Regions from separate parts of the Homo sapiens genome. Here regions 1, 2, 3 and 4 are each linked to region 5. The links are contacts of gene promoters, found by promoter capture Hi-C in blood cells and fetal thymus (Javierre and others, 2016). All regions are on one chromosome and are shown on one strand. Each heading gives the region's core, a stretch centred on a gene start or on the middle of the fragment in contact. The rest is flanking DNA. Distances are from core to core; before and after follow the strand shown.

The links. Contacts are between HindIII fragments. The CHiCAGO score rates a contact against its expected background, and 5 or more counts as called.
Region 1: a contact is called between a fragment that was not itself captured here and the fragment with the promoter of HEY2 in region 5, in 4 of 17 cell types (M2 macrophages, fetal thymus, M0 macrophages and 1 more). The highest score is 7.9, in M2 macrophages.
Region 2: a contact is called between the fragment with the promoter of RNF217 here and the fragment with the promoter of HEY2 in region 5, in 3 of 17 cell types (M2 macrophages, M1 macrophages and M0 macrophages). The highest score is 10.2, in M2 macrophages.
Region 3: a fragment that was not itself captured here is called in contact with the fragment with the promoter of HEY2 in region 5 in 1 of 17 cell types (M2 macrophages); the score reaches 6.1 in M2 macrophages.
Region 4: a fragment that was not itself captured here is called in contact with the fragment with the promoter of HEY2 in region 5 in 1 of 17 cell types (M0 macrophages); the score reaches 5.4 in M0 macrophages.

The regions. Positions count from the first base shown.
Region 1 is chr6:125,164,241-125,166,969 of GRCh38, forward strand. All of the region lies in intron 1 of TPD52L1 (TPD52 like 1), which reads left to right. Among named protein-coding and RNA genes, the nearest start is that of TPD52L1, 12 kb to the left of the region's middle. The HindIII fragment of the contact is 679 bases long and covers 1,129-1,807 here.
Region 2 is chr6:124,961,023-124,963,837 of GRCh38, forward strand. RNF217 (ring finger protein 217) reads left to right here and starts at 1,415. Exons shown (of 6, transcript NM_001286398.3): 1 at 1,415-2,404. The coding sequence starts at 1,523. RNF217-AS1 (RNF217 antisense RNA 1) reads right to left here and starts at 2,005. Exons shown (of 7, transcript NR_026876.1): 1 at 1,801-2,005. The HindIII fragment of the contact is 3,639 bases long and covers 1-2,693 here.
Region 3 is chr6:125,138,286-125,140,985 of GRCh38, forward strand. No RefSeq gene overlaps it. Among named protein-coding and RNA genes, the nearest start is that of TPD52L1, 14 kb to the right of the region's middle. The HindIII fragment of the contact is 4,047 bases long and covers 1-2,700 here.
Region 4 is chr6:125,117,304-125,120,045 of GRCh38, forward strand. LOC124901394 (a long non-coding RNA gene) reads right to left here. Exons shown (of 2, transcript XR_007059735.1): 2 at 324-828. Among named protein-coding and RNA genes, the nearest start is that of TPD52L1, 35 kb to the right of the region's middle. The HindIII fragment of the contact is 351 bases long and covers 1,271-1,621 here.
Region 5 is chr6:125,748,327-125,751,124 of GRCh38, forward strand. It overlaps HEY2 (hes related family bHLH transcription factor with YRPW motif 2), which reads left to right and starts at 1,306. Exons shown (of 5, transcript NM_012259.3): 1 at 1,306-1,533. The coding sequence starts at 1,451. HEY2-AS1 (HEY2 antisense RNA 1) reads right to left here and starts at 1,099. Exons shown (of 5, transcript NR_183491.1): 1 at 633-1,099. RefSeq lists a silencer at 815-1,524. The HindIII fragment of the contact is 5,509 bases long and covers 1-2,772 here.

The sequences.
Region 1 (2,729 bases), core at 218-2,717, 580 kb before region 5:
TCATATGTGGGCAGGGTCTAAGTCTGGGAATATGAATGGGACTGGAGATCTTTAAGAGTAAGCCTTGCGACATGTCAAGTTGCGGGTGGAGGATGCTCATTTATCAACAGCTTGCTATTTTTGTTCTGTTTTCAAGATGAAGAATTCTATAAAAATCACATGACATGTGATTCTTAAACCAATACAGAATTTTATCACCAGCTCAAACAAAAGTCTGTTCAGATATGTTATTCCACTTGGTGTTCATCCATATTCAGTCATCTCAGGACTTTAAAATAAATAAAAGTCACAGGCTCTGCATGCTTCTTTCCAGAAAGTAGAATCTGTATTCTTTAGATGCTGGCTGAAAGGGCTAATTTCAATGAGTACCCCAAAAAAGAAAGCATTTTATTGCCTCATGAACATTATAATTACTTGTTTACACGAATATGTTTTATTCATTTAACCATCTCCCAACCATACTAGCAGAATAACTACTTTAAGAAAATACCTAGTAAAACTGTTGAAAAAAATGAGCCATCAATGGATTTGTCCTTAAGCGACTCTAGCCATCTCTGTGTTGAATTTTCACGGTTTGAAGCAGCAACTGCAGAAAAGAGGGCATCTGCCTCAGTCATTGATCAGCTGGCATGCTCTCCATGCAGGCAGAGGTTCACCATTACTTCTGTTGCGAAATGTCCCCAACAACACCGTAAAGCCAGTCACTTCTTCAATTTACTGAGTTAAGCTGATCATGGTGGTGAGTGCTTATAGTCCCAGCTAATCAAGGTGCTGAGGCAGTGGGACCACTTGAGCTCCAGAGTTCAAACCCAGGCTAAGCAAAACCCCTGTCTCTTAAAAAAAAGATATATATATATATTTTAACTGTATATATATAGTTTTGTATACATATATAAAACTAAAAGAAAAAAGTAAAACAAGAAAAAATTTACTGAGTTACTACACAGTTAAGAACACATAAAAGGTGACCTCAAAATGTGGATATTCACATCTGTCATCCTACTTTTCATTGAATATTTAAGCAATAAAGTGTAATGATTTGAAATATATGCATTAAATTGAGAAGCATTGTTAATGTACCAGGGAAGGCAGGAGAATATTTTAATGAATTTGAAATGGCTAAAAGGAAGCTTTGGGTCCTCAAGGAAAGATGAATTTTAAGCAATTTCTCACAGTGTGAATCGTTTATAAGTGATGCATTTTGATGCAGAGGAAGTGAAGTTCCCAGAATAAAACCACAAATCTCCAAGAATACCCTTAGTCACCAACATATTGCTTCTTTCTCAAAAGGCAAAAATCTAGCACTTTGCTGTAGCCAGATCATGTACCACACATGAAAAATGCATGTATATGTTACACCTCATCTCCAAACTTACCTATGGTTATTTGTATCTTATACAAATTACAGTTTCCCTGACATATATCTAAAATATGGAAAACTCTTCAACTCCTTGGAAATACATTTTTCTTATAATTAGACATTTCTTTTGTCCATTAATAGCAAGAGCGTCTTGTCAAGGATCATGGAAGCAGAACTGATTCAAGATTAAAAAGATCCGTAAAAGTCACATGAGATGTAATTCTTAGAACCAGTATAGAGTTTTATCACCAGCTGCTAGGAAAAGTCAGTTCAAATATGGAATGGTTCAAATATGTTATTCTACTTGGTGTTCGTCCATACCCAGTAATCTCAGTATTTTAAAATAAATAAGTCATAGGATCTGCGTGCTTGTTTCCAGAAAGTAGGATTTGTATCCTTTAGATGTTGGCTGAAAGGACTAATTTCAATGAGTACCCAAAAAAAGAAAGCTTTTTATTGCCTCATGAGTATTATAATTACTTGTTTACATGGATATGTTTTATTCATTTAACCATCTCCCAAGCATATTCACGGAAGCAGAACTGATTCATTCAAAAGAAAAAGCCAATTTGGGATGGGGGTAGTGGGAGGAGATCTCTTCAGATCTCTCAGTTTTAAAGTCTCTGATGGTTGGATATTTGTAGTTTTTCACTGATTTTTCTCTCTGCATAAAGAGCTAATAGCTCATTGTCTATAAATATTTTCCAACATTTTGTTTTCCAAAATGGACTCATTTCTACATAAAGACGTCATGGAAAGATGGTTTTTCTTCCTGAAGGGTTAGGTCAGCCCTGGGAAGAAGTATAGACCTTGGCTCCTGTTATTCCTCTTTAGATATCCCAGGGTTCCAACAGGAAGTTACAAGATACCTGCACTACCTGTAAAGTTTATTTAAAATGATTGGAAGGCTCTCATAAGCATTGGAGGGGAAGAAAAACTTTTTTTCTACCCTCTTAGGTGAAGTGCCTAGGAGCCTGTGAATTAAACTTACAGCAGACAGACTAGCAGGAGAAAAAGCTTACAAAGTTATTTATTTTAAATTTTGCTTGCACAAGGGTGTCATAGAAAGAAATGAATACCCCAAGGAGTGATGAGATTTGATTTTCTGTATCATTTTACTACAGGAAAGGGAGGTGGAGAAAAGGCAATATTGAGAGAGCAAATGACTTCTTTAAAAAAAAAAAAAAAAGATAAATGGGTCCTTAGGAGAATAGATGGGAGATATGACAGTTTGTGACAATGTCTAGAAGAGAAGAAAGAGTTGCTCCCAGTGGGAGGAATTTGTGACAGCTGAGTTCTTTTGGGAACCTCTGCTTTTAGTCAGATAAAGGATTTCGGGAACTCAAATGCCTTCAGCTCAAAATAACTC
Region 2 (2,815 bases), core at 165-2,664, 790 kb before region 5:
ATATGATGGAAATGTTCTTTGGCATTACACTGCTTTCTTAGTTTGCATCGCTAGTCACCTTTGTATCATTTGCATCTGATTTGGAAAATATTTTAGAACAACCCAATAACAACTTCGAGATTAAAAAATAAAATTCTACACACTTTACAGTTCCTTGCTATTACATGAATGTGTAAATTGAATTCCCTCTCAGGAGAAAAAAAACAAAACAAGGGCTGGCTTCCCAAAAATGTTTTCACTGGCTTTAGGGAACTAAAACACCAGTGTCTGGGTGAGTAATACTTCCTGTAAAATAAAGATAGATCAACACATAATTAAGTCCTGGCTCACATATAATTGTTGTTTTGGAAACAGTTTTGAGGATAAATATGGTTATGCTAATGAAACTGCCCATGATTTCCACTAATGATCCAGTTTATTAATTAGGTCAGGACATTTTTCCACCTTGTGCTATCCATTTTGGAATGCTGAAAAGGGTTAAAAAAAAAAACTTCTAAGAGAACACTGTAGGCGAAGAAAAAGAGAGAAATTTTAAATTAGTTATCAACTCTTCTAAGGATTCCAGTTGGAGGAGTAGATCGAAAGTGCTTTTTCGATTATTTATGGGTTTCGAAGATTCTTCCTACTCCACTAGGCAGAAAAACAGAGTTGTAATATACAGCATTTAGAATTCATAATCCTTAGCATTATTTCTCTGAACTCGACATCCTAAATAGCCAGCGTTTACTAATTCCAGAGCTGAGTGTAGTTTTGTAGGAAGTTCTACTGAATGCGGAGACCAAAGGGGAGCCTGCCTGCTCTGAGGGTTTTGTTGAGGCTGAGTGTGAACTCCGGGCGAGAAAGCGCATCTCAGCTCTTAGATCACACCCACTCAGGGTGTGCGTGTGTGTGTGCGCGGGTGCCTGCGCGCGTGTGTACGTGTGGGGAGGTGTGCGCCAAAGGGGTGGGGTGAGGGGCGGCGAGGAGGGCTGTAGGTGAAGCGCGGGGAGAGGGAGGTCGCCCGCTCCGGCCTCTCCCCCAGGGGCCCTGCGGCTGGCCAGCGCTCCGGCTGCACCTCCTGGTGCGCGCCGCGGCGGCGCCACAGGCCCCTCGACCCTTTGACCACCGCCCTCGGGCCGCGCGTCCGGCAGCCGGGACCGGTGATGGCGCGGGACTGACGGCCGTCTCCTCCCAGACCCCTCTGTCCCGCCTGGGGCTCGCTGGGGCTGCGGCGCCGCCCCGAGCTGCATGTGGGGCGGGCGCGCCCGAGCCCAGAGCGAGCGGCCCTCGGCGCCCCCGAGGCGGTGCCCCGCCGCGCCAGAGTACGAGGAGGAGCGGCGGGCCGGGCCAGGCTCCCCACGCGCCGCAGCCTCGGAGCACGGGCTCCCCGGAGGGGACTTGGGGCGTCCCAGCCCAGGAGGAAGGACCCGGAAGCAGAAGCGGAGCCGCGAGTCGAGCCGAGCCACTGCCCCCGCTGCCCGCGGGCGCCGGGTGGGGGTCCCGGCGGCTGGATGGGCAGCGGCGGCGCGGGCCGCGGGCGGCGATGGGCGAGGAGCAGAGCACGGTGAGCGGCGGCGGCGGGCCCCAGGAGTCGCAGACCCTGGCCAGTGGCACTGCGGGCCACCCTGAGCCCCCGAGGCCTCAGGGGGACAGCGCCCGGGCGCCCCCGCTGCGCGCCGCCTCCGCGGAGCCGAGCGGCGGTGGCTGCGGAAGCGACTGGGGCTGCGCGGACACCAGCGCCCCAGAGCCCGCGAGGAGCCTGGGGCCCCCGGGCTGGAGTAAGAGCCGAGCACCGGCGCAGCCTGCGGGACTGGCACTCACCGGGCCTCTCAATCCCCAGACCTTGCCACTGCAGTTGGAGCTGGAGGAGGAAGAGGAGGAAGCTGGGGATCGAAAAGAGGGAGGGGATGAACAGCAGGAGGCGCCCCCCGGCGAAGAGCTGGAGCCCAGGACCCGCGTGGGGGCCGCCGACGGACTGGTCCTGGACGTGCTGGGTCAGCGGCGCCCGTCCCTCGCCAAGAGACAAGTCTTCTGCTCCGTGTACTGCGTGGAGAGCGACCTGCCCGAGGCCCCCGCCTCGGAGCAGCTCTCGCCGCCCGCGTCGCCACCTGGGGCTCCGCCAGTGTTGAACCCTCCCAGCACCCGCTCTTCCTTCCCCAGCCCCCGACTGTCCCTCCCAACGGATTCCCTCTCCCCCGACGGCGGCAGCATCGAGCTGGAGTTCTACCTGGCGCCCGAGCCGTTCTCCATGCCCAGCCTGTTGGGAGCTCCACCCTACTCTGGCCTGGGCGGTGTAGGGGATCCCTATGTGCCCCTCATGGTGCTGATGTGCCGGGTGTGCCTGGAAGACAAGCCCATCAAGCCCCTGCCTTGCTGCAAGAAGGCCGTGTGCGAGGAGTGCCTCAAAGTCTACCTGAGCGCCCAGGTAACTTCACCCCCTTCTCTTCCCCATTTATCATTCCAAATCACTGGCGAGGAGGTCCTGCTCTCGATCTGATCTCCCTGCTCGCGCGAAGAGGTGACCGACACACTTACTGAGGATCTCTGTTAGTTTCTCACGTCTCAGTTGTTATTTAAGTGTATTATGACCTCACTGGTTTACTTAACTGGAATTTAACTTTGCTGTGAACTTCAGGCTATGGTTGGCATGTGTAGAAGGCACAAGATACAAGTTGTTGCCCTCCTCTTATTTCTTATACAGGATTGCAAGCACAAGCTTGCTCAAAGGAGGAGAGGAAGAGACTGCCTCATCGGCCTGGTATCCCAGAAACTAACAAGCAGTGGGCATAGAATAAATATTTATGGAGCTGGTGGAGAAAAGAATTGGAATAAATAT
Region 3 (2,700 bases), core at 178-2,677, 610 kb before region 5:
TAAGACTGTTCTTGTTGGGTTTTGGCATCAAGGCTATAGCTATACAAGGTCTTTTAGAGTCTAGAGCATTTAGCGCATTTTCTATTGATGAAGTTTAGGACATACCATCCCAAAATATAACTCTAGGATATAAGAATAGGCCATCCCCAAATATGCCACTTTGGCATACTGATTACTTTGAGCTAAAAATAACTGAGAGCCAGCCAAAGCAAGAAAAACTCTTTCTCTCCTTCAACTTCCTAAAATAAAACATAAAAATTCCCTTGTGTGCAGGAATTTACACCCATAAGGAAATTTTCATTAGTAAAGATACGTGACAATTGTATCACCTGAGAGACTTTTACTTGATTAACAAGGCAACCTCTATTCACAATACATTTCCTCCGCTTGCCCTCCCATAATTTTCCTCTACCATTACCTAGAATCCCTAAACTCCTATTCCTTTCTGTAGGTCAGGATGATATGTAAGTTTAAATTATCTGGTGAGTCTTACATTTTTATTGAACTCCTCTATGGACATAATTAAAATTGTTTTTCTCCTGTTGATCTTTCTTATGTCAGTTTAATCCATAGACCAGCCAAAGAACCTGGAAGGGTAGCTGGAAATATTTTTTTGTCCTCTACATCTTTTTATTAAATTATTTTTTAATTTGCTAATTTTGGTCATTTTTGATGGACAGAATTTTTAATTTTTGAAGCCACACATGTTAACCTTTCCCTTTATGATTTCTATCACTTTTGAACTCTGAAAGTACCACTCACACCTTAAAACTTAATATTCAATTATATTCTATTCTAGTTTTTCTACATTTTAAAAATATTCAATATTTTAATTTCTATGGAATTAATTTGGACGTATGGAGTGAAATGAATGTATAAATTGATTTTTTTTCAAAGTTCCATATCAGAACCTTAAATGAATGATGAAAATTATTGGATTCTTTTTCTCATTTTTAAATAAAATTTATAAATTTTTTGTTTAGTCTTATTAAAAGTAACTCACAGATTTTCACTAGAGAACGTGATTGTTTTATGCTTAAACAATTGTTTAAAATTTTGAAATTAATAAATTAATGTAGCAATTCTGTAAACATGAGCAACAAAATAAAACTTAGAGTTCTTTTTACATAGATTGTGTGATTGATTGGAATTAGTGAATGTAAAATGTAGATAATTCCTGAATTAATTAGTAATGTAGGGGAGGCACAGGTGTGACACCTTTCCTCACCCATCATAAGGGTCACAGCCAACATTCCTATAACAAAAGACAAATTAACAAGGCAAAAAATTACAACAAATTTATGTAATCAAAGTTTATCGTGACACGGGGTACTTCAGAAACAAAGACCCAGGTAAAACAGTCCATTTTAATGCTTATATTCATTGAAGAGTAGACAGCTATGCAGAAATGTGATTGGACAAAAGGGAATGATCTTACGGTAATAGGCTGAGGAGGGAAACCCAGCAAGGCATCGCTGCTCAGATTCTTCTCTGTCTTTCTGTGTGGCGTTCCTTCCTCCTGGGTATGAAGCAGGGCCCCTCTGGAATGAGAGTCTTATTATCTACTATAAGACAAGGTAGATTAGACATTTTCCTTATGGCCAACTGGTATACTGAAAGGTAGGTTAAGGTTAGAATAATGTTTCTAGGTTTTATGGCTGCCTTTGGGATAGTTTCTATGACCCACTGATGTGGGTCTAGTTTCTATGACCCACTGATGTGGTTCTAGTTTCTATGACCCACTGATGTGGTTTGGCTTCATCCCCACCCAAATCTCATCTTGAATTTTAATCCCTATAATCCCCAAGTGTCATGGGAGGGACCTGGTGGGAGGTAATTGAATCATGGGAGCAGTTTCCCCCATGCTGTTCTCATGATAGTGAGTTCTCACATAATCTGATGGTTTTACTTTTTTATTTTTTATTTTTTGAGATGGAGTTTCGCTCTTGTTGCCCAAACTGGAGTGCAATGGTGCTATCTCGGCTCACTCCTGCCTCAACCTCCTGAGTAGCTGGGATTACAGGCAAGTGCCACCATGCCCAGATAATTTTTTGTATTTTTAGTAGAAACAGGGTTTCACCATGTTACCCAGGCTGGTCACAAACTCCTGACCTCAGGTGATCTGCCCACCTTGTCTTCCCAAAGTGCTGGGATTACAGGTGTGAGCCACCACGCCCAGCCCTGATGGTTTTATAATGTATGGCATTTCCCCTGCTGGCACTCATTCTCTCTCCTGCTGCACTGAGAAGAGGTGCCTTCCGCCATGATTGTAAGTCTCCTGAGGCCTCCCCAGCCATGTGGAACTGTGAGTCAATCAAACCTCTTTTCTTATAATTTACCCAGTCTCAGGTATCTCTTGATAGCAGTGTGAGAACAGACGAATACACTCACCATGGGGAAGAGAAATTCTGGTTTCTATAACTTGCTTTGGGTGAGAAAAAGGAGAGGGAGACAGGAGGGTAGGAGAAGGTCAGAGGGAGACTGCATCTGAGGCTGCTTCTGAGCCCTTCCAGTACTTCCTTCTTTGGTTCAAAGTACTCAGCATGCCAAAGTGCCACTCTTTGGGGTATTGTTCTCTGAGCCCCAACAGTATTATATGGGATGTATTTGACATCTAATTTTTCTGATATAAATTTGCTTCATAAACTGATTGTAGAAATATTCCCTGAAAAATTGAGTTCCATGCTTCAGCTATTACTC
Region 4 (2,742 bases), core at 196-2,695, 630 kb before region 5:
TTTCCAACTCCTTAGAAAGCCTTTCCTTCTCCCCATCAACCATCTCACTGCACAGATTTGATGGCATGACGTCTTGCTCGAAGTCTACTTACTTGTTCTTGAATACTGCTTGATATTGTTATTAAACATACTGATTCTTAAATTTTTGAAATCCCAATCATCATCCTTAACATTTGTAAATTTTTTACAATTATAACCATCATATTATAAATGATGAAAGATATCTCAAAAGTTTTTTTTTAACATTCCTCGAACACTCTTTGGAACCATCTTTCTTGCTTTCAATAAATTCTATTCTCTAGACACTCCAAATGAACCTTCACTTTGAAATGACACACTATTTTTATTTTTCTCAATCCAACTTACCAAATTCAAGTCCTTAATTCTTTTTTTGAGGTATTAGCATATGGGGGTGTGAAAAGGAGGGTAGAAAATGAGAAATTACTTAATGAGTAAATATATGTTATTCAGGTGATGGATGCTATACAAACCTTTGAGTTGACCACTACACAATCTATGCATGTACAAAATTGCATTTGTATCCCATAAATTTATACAAAACATGCATTAACGTATGACAATGAATTAATATATCACCAATTTGTAAGAACATATTTGGTTTTTAACAACTGTCTTCAAGGTACCCAGAATAGTGACTCACAGGAAGATTTCAAGCATCATCTTAAGTCAGGAGTTATTCTTGGCAAAGAGCTGTATTGACACCTCATTAACACGCCAAGGCGATGTGTGTCTGCTTTGTTCCTCTTTCAGTGCATCCTAGTTCCATAGGGTAAGATTTGAAGATAACAACTATTACTTCTTCAATGTCTAGAGAATAAGAAAGGAAAAACTAGGAATGAGAAAATATTATATTAGTATAGTAAATTTGAATTTTATAAATGAACATTTTAAATTCTTTAATTCTGACAATATGATAGACTAGACAGCCTGATACCATTCCACTAAATACAAATGTATATATACTTAAATTGTTGAAAATGTTAAATATACTTTTCATAAAAAGAGATAACTAAAAAATAGTAAAGTAAATATGAGGACCGAGAGAACTGTCAGCGGGTATCTGGAGAAAGAAGGATCCTTGGAGGCATACAGAGTTTCCTATTTCCATGAAGAGAGAAATAAGGGGGGCGGCGAAGTCTTGGAATTACAAAGGGTGAAAAGCCAAATGGGAGAATATCCTTAATAAAGTTTCAACTCAAAAAGAACTATAACCTCAGATAAAGGAATTGTTAAATCAAGTTTAGCATAAAGCTTCCTTCCTACATATTTTAAGTCAGGCCTAAAGGTGTTTCTATACATCTTGAACTATAACAAGTGAAGGTATAAACAGACCATAGCCTACACCTGTGCCAATCACCGAGTTCTGGCCAGTCAAATGTAGCCAACTGTTCGAACCTGTTCAAATAAAGCAAACACTGAGCTATAACCAATCCAGCTGTTTCTTTACCTCTCTTCAATTTTCTACATGTCACTTTCCTTTTTCTGTCCATAAATCTACCATGTGGCTGCTCTGGAGTCTCAGAGACTACTCTGGCTGTGAAGGCTGCCCAATTCATGAATCATTCATTAAATTAGTTAACAATTGTAACAATTTGGCTGAAGCTTTTCTTTTTCTTTCTTTTTTTTTTTTTTTTTTTTTTTGAGACAGAGTCTAGCTCTGTTGCCCAAGCTGGAGTGCAGTGGCGTGATATCAGCTCACTGCAACCTCCGCCTCCCGGGTTCATGCCATTCTCCTGCCTCAGCCTCCTGAGTAGCTGGGACTACAGGTGCCCGCCACCAGGCCCGGCTAATTTTTTGTATTTTTAGTAGAGGCGGGGTTTTGCAGTGTTAACCAGGATGGTCTCGATCTCCTGACCTTGTGATCAGCCCACCTTGGCCTCCCAAAGTGCTGGGATTACAGGCTTGAGCCACCGCGCCTGGCCCAGCTTTTCTTTTATTAGATAGCAATGAGGATGGGATCCGAAGTAGAGCTTCCAACGACCCTCAGGAGCGCTGAGCGACCAAGTGAAGTACCTACAGGACCCATTTGTGTTCACTGATCTATTGGAGCAGCTGGGGATTGTGGTAAGTTCTCTCTGGCATTTCAGAGCTCCACGGATTTGTGTTTTGAGCTCACTGAGTTTCTTTGAGCAAATTTGTGATCCAAACTGGTTTTGGAAGTCATGACAGAAACTGGACTGGGTCCAGGATCACATTTGACCCAGTAATTAACTGACTTGGATCCAGTTAGAGGCCTCGCACATCTGACTGGGTCAGAAAGAAACTGGTGGTAAATAGTAATATTGCAGGGGGTGTAAAAATTTGGCTTTTGAAAATTCAAAGGGATTTTTGTGTTCTACCTTTTTTTTTTTTCCACTTTTCTTGTGTGCTTAGGTAGGAGGAAAAAAATCATTAATTAAGTCAATCAAGGGAACCTAGAAACAAAACCAATATTTTAGGTAAAAAATGGGATCCTTAATTTTTGGAAAACTGAGTTCCCTCCAGCTTATACATGCGTAAGTGTTAGGCCCCAGAAGTAGTGAAGTCTTAGAGTAATAGTGAAATCTTACTAAAGATAACTTACAGTGGAATGTTCCAAATGAATAAAACTGCACTAAAGTGCGTTTGAAAATGAGGGCTCCCAAATTAGTCTCCTGTAGGCATGGCTATTGATATGCAGAAGCTTCTAAAAAGATTTCAGTATTTTTATTTAAAGACTTTACAAAAGGCAAATAAAAAACT
Region 5 (2,798 bases), core at 56-2,555:
TGACGGAGGGGTCTGGGGATCGATAGACGGCCCTTTCTCAGAGGCTCTCTCCACTACTGACCAAGCGGCCCTGCCAACGTGTGGTTTCCGGCTGGACCCCAACCCAGCCGCCGCCAGTCTCCCGGCGCCCCTGGCTGGGTCTCGCTCAGTCCCTGCCCTCGCAGACGCACAGCGGGGTGGCCAGTTCAAAAGTCCTACATAACTTGGAGAGAACCAGCAGCTAGAAAACCTGTTTTAAACACACAGCTTGAGTTTTATACAACCCACGTTGTCCAAGGCACGAACTGTTGGACACGAATTCATACTTTAGAAACCAAATCTAATTTCCAAGCGCCAATCTTCACCTCCCGGACTCTAACTCTGCGGCTGCGAGTGCATACACCAGGGGGACTGGAGGAGACTGGAGGCAATTATCTGGATAATCCAAGCCCGAAAAACTCGAACTTGAAAATATACGATTATGTCCTGAAATGCCCGCGTCATTGATCTAGTCTTTCCTACCATCAGAGCTGACACAGCTCCAGTCCACGGGCTTCTCCGCGGGGTCTAGGATCCACAGTCCCTGGGGGCTGAAGACCCAATGGAAGTAACTGATGGATCGCAAATTGGAAATCGTAACGTGGCCGACAGACCTGATCAGGAAAACTCGCGTCCTTATATGAAACAGCCCCGAGGCCGCGAAAGTAGCCTCAGGAGTTGTCAGATTCAAAAGCAATTTTGATTTAAGGTTTTCAAAAGCCCCAGAGGGCAAATGTGACCACTCGGGTCAGCCAGTCAGCAGTTTGGATCCAGACAGGGGACCACCGAGTGGGGCGGCCGAGGAGCCGCGGCGCCTCCCGACGTCACACGCGCCTGCTCGCACTTAGCCACGCGCTTGGGGTTATTCTTTACACTCAGGACTGAAACTTCGCCCGCGAGACCGCGGGGCGCGGAGGAGGGCCGAAACCCAAGGTCCAGGTCCAGGGCCCGCCCCCGCGCGCCCGCGTTGGCGCCCGCGCGCTCCCTCCGCAGGGGTTAGCAAGATTGCGCTCATTCTCGCCCCGGCTGCTCCCCACCCGCTCGCTGCTCTGGGGTACCAGGTCCGCGGCCGCGTTCCCACGCCTCGGCTGGAGCCTTGCGGCGGGCATTGGCGAGCGCGGCCCCGCCCCCTGGCCCAGCCAATCGCGAGCCACGCCGACCAGCGAGGGGGAGGTGCCGGGCGGAAGGCCTGGGCCGGTGCGCGGGGGCGGGTGAGGTGGCCCCACCCGCTCGAGGGGGGGGCGTGGCCGGCGCCGGCTCTTGCGGCCGAGCAGAGTTGCGGCGTGGGAAAGAGCCGCTAGGAGCAGACCGCGCCGCCGCCGGAGCCGCGCCTGCCCAGGCCCGGGGAGGGAGGAGGCGGGCGTCAGGGTGCTGCGCCCCGCTCGGCGTCCGAGCTTCCGGCCGGGCTGTGCCCCGCGCGGTCTTCGCCGGGATGAAGCGCCCCTGCGAGGAGACGACCTCCGAGAGCGACATGGACGAGACCATCGACGTGGGGAGCGAGAACAATTACTCGGGGTGAGCGCGGGCTCCGCGGGAGCGGCCCGCAGCTCGGGAGCTTGGGGTAGCTTTGTGAATGCGTGGCTCCCTGGAAATCCCGAGGCTGGTCTCCGCAGCATCTAGGTAGAGAGGGAAAGTTTGGCCTGAGAAAGTTTGAGTGGTGGGCGCTCGCAGAGCGTGAGTTGGGATGGGGCAAGGGATGTGGATTTTCACCGTAGGGGTGGAGTAGCCAGGATGGGAGACGCCACTGAAAGGCAGAGCGCAGGAGTTGGCGAGGGAGGGTCCTGGCTGTCACAGTTGGACGCGCGAACGGCAGCGTCTGGGCGACAGGCGATGTCCCAGCCACTGAAACCGTATTTGGGGGCACTTTCAAAATAGATCAGGAGAAAATAAAAACAATTTGATTTTTGATTTTTAGAGATACCAAAATCACAACTTGATTTTTGGAGGAATTAAAGCAACCTGCGATGTCAAGGCTACGTAGGTTGAACTTTGCAGGTTGACCGTGTGTGACTTGGCTAACGCAAGAGTGAGTGACAGATGTAAGCATCGGAAAGGGCATCATTTCTTTGACTGCTTGTTCTCAAGTCTGGAAGAGATCGGCGTCGTAATCACAGAAGCCAGACCTCCACTTTCCTGTGACAGAGGGAGATTACCGAGGCATTTTAGAGCCAAGGCGGGTCAAATGATAATTGCTTCTAATTGGCATCCCCAGAAGCACCTTAATTATTTATCTGCAGCTGTCACTCAAAGAGGGAAATTCTTCCTACCTTTGGAAAACTGGTTTTCTTTCATATTGTTATTCTAATACATACAAAGCAAAGCACAAAATCTGCAAGAGCAAAGATATTTACACGAAAGCAAAGGTTTAAGTATCTGATCATTAAAGTGTTGTTGTGCCGTCTTTAAAAATGAGGTCTGAAAAACAGAAGCTATCACGTGAAAGGTGAAACCCGTAAAGAAGGGGTGAAAATGAGGGGGACAGGTAATTCAGAAATAAGATCCAGAAGTGAGAAGGTGAGGTAATAGCAACCTGGTGTGTGCAGCATTTCTAAAATGAAAGAGAACAAATAACAGGAACCTGGGGAATTTGAGAACACAAAGAAGCATAGTATCCATGAATTATGAAGAGAAACAGATACAAACTAGAAAGGATTGTAAAAATTATGTGACCAAATAATACTTTGATTGAACCTTCAATATAAAAATATATTTTCATTAGTAAATCCAAGGTGCATTGCAGCTTCTGGAGATTTAAGCTTAGCCTAAAGTCTGAGACACAC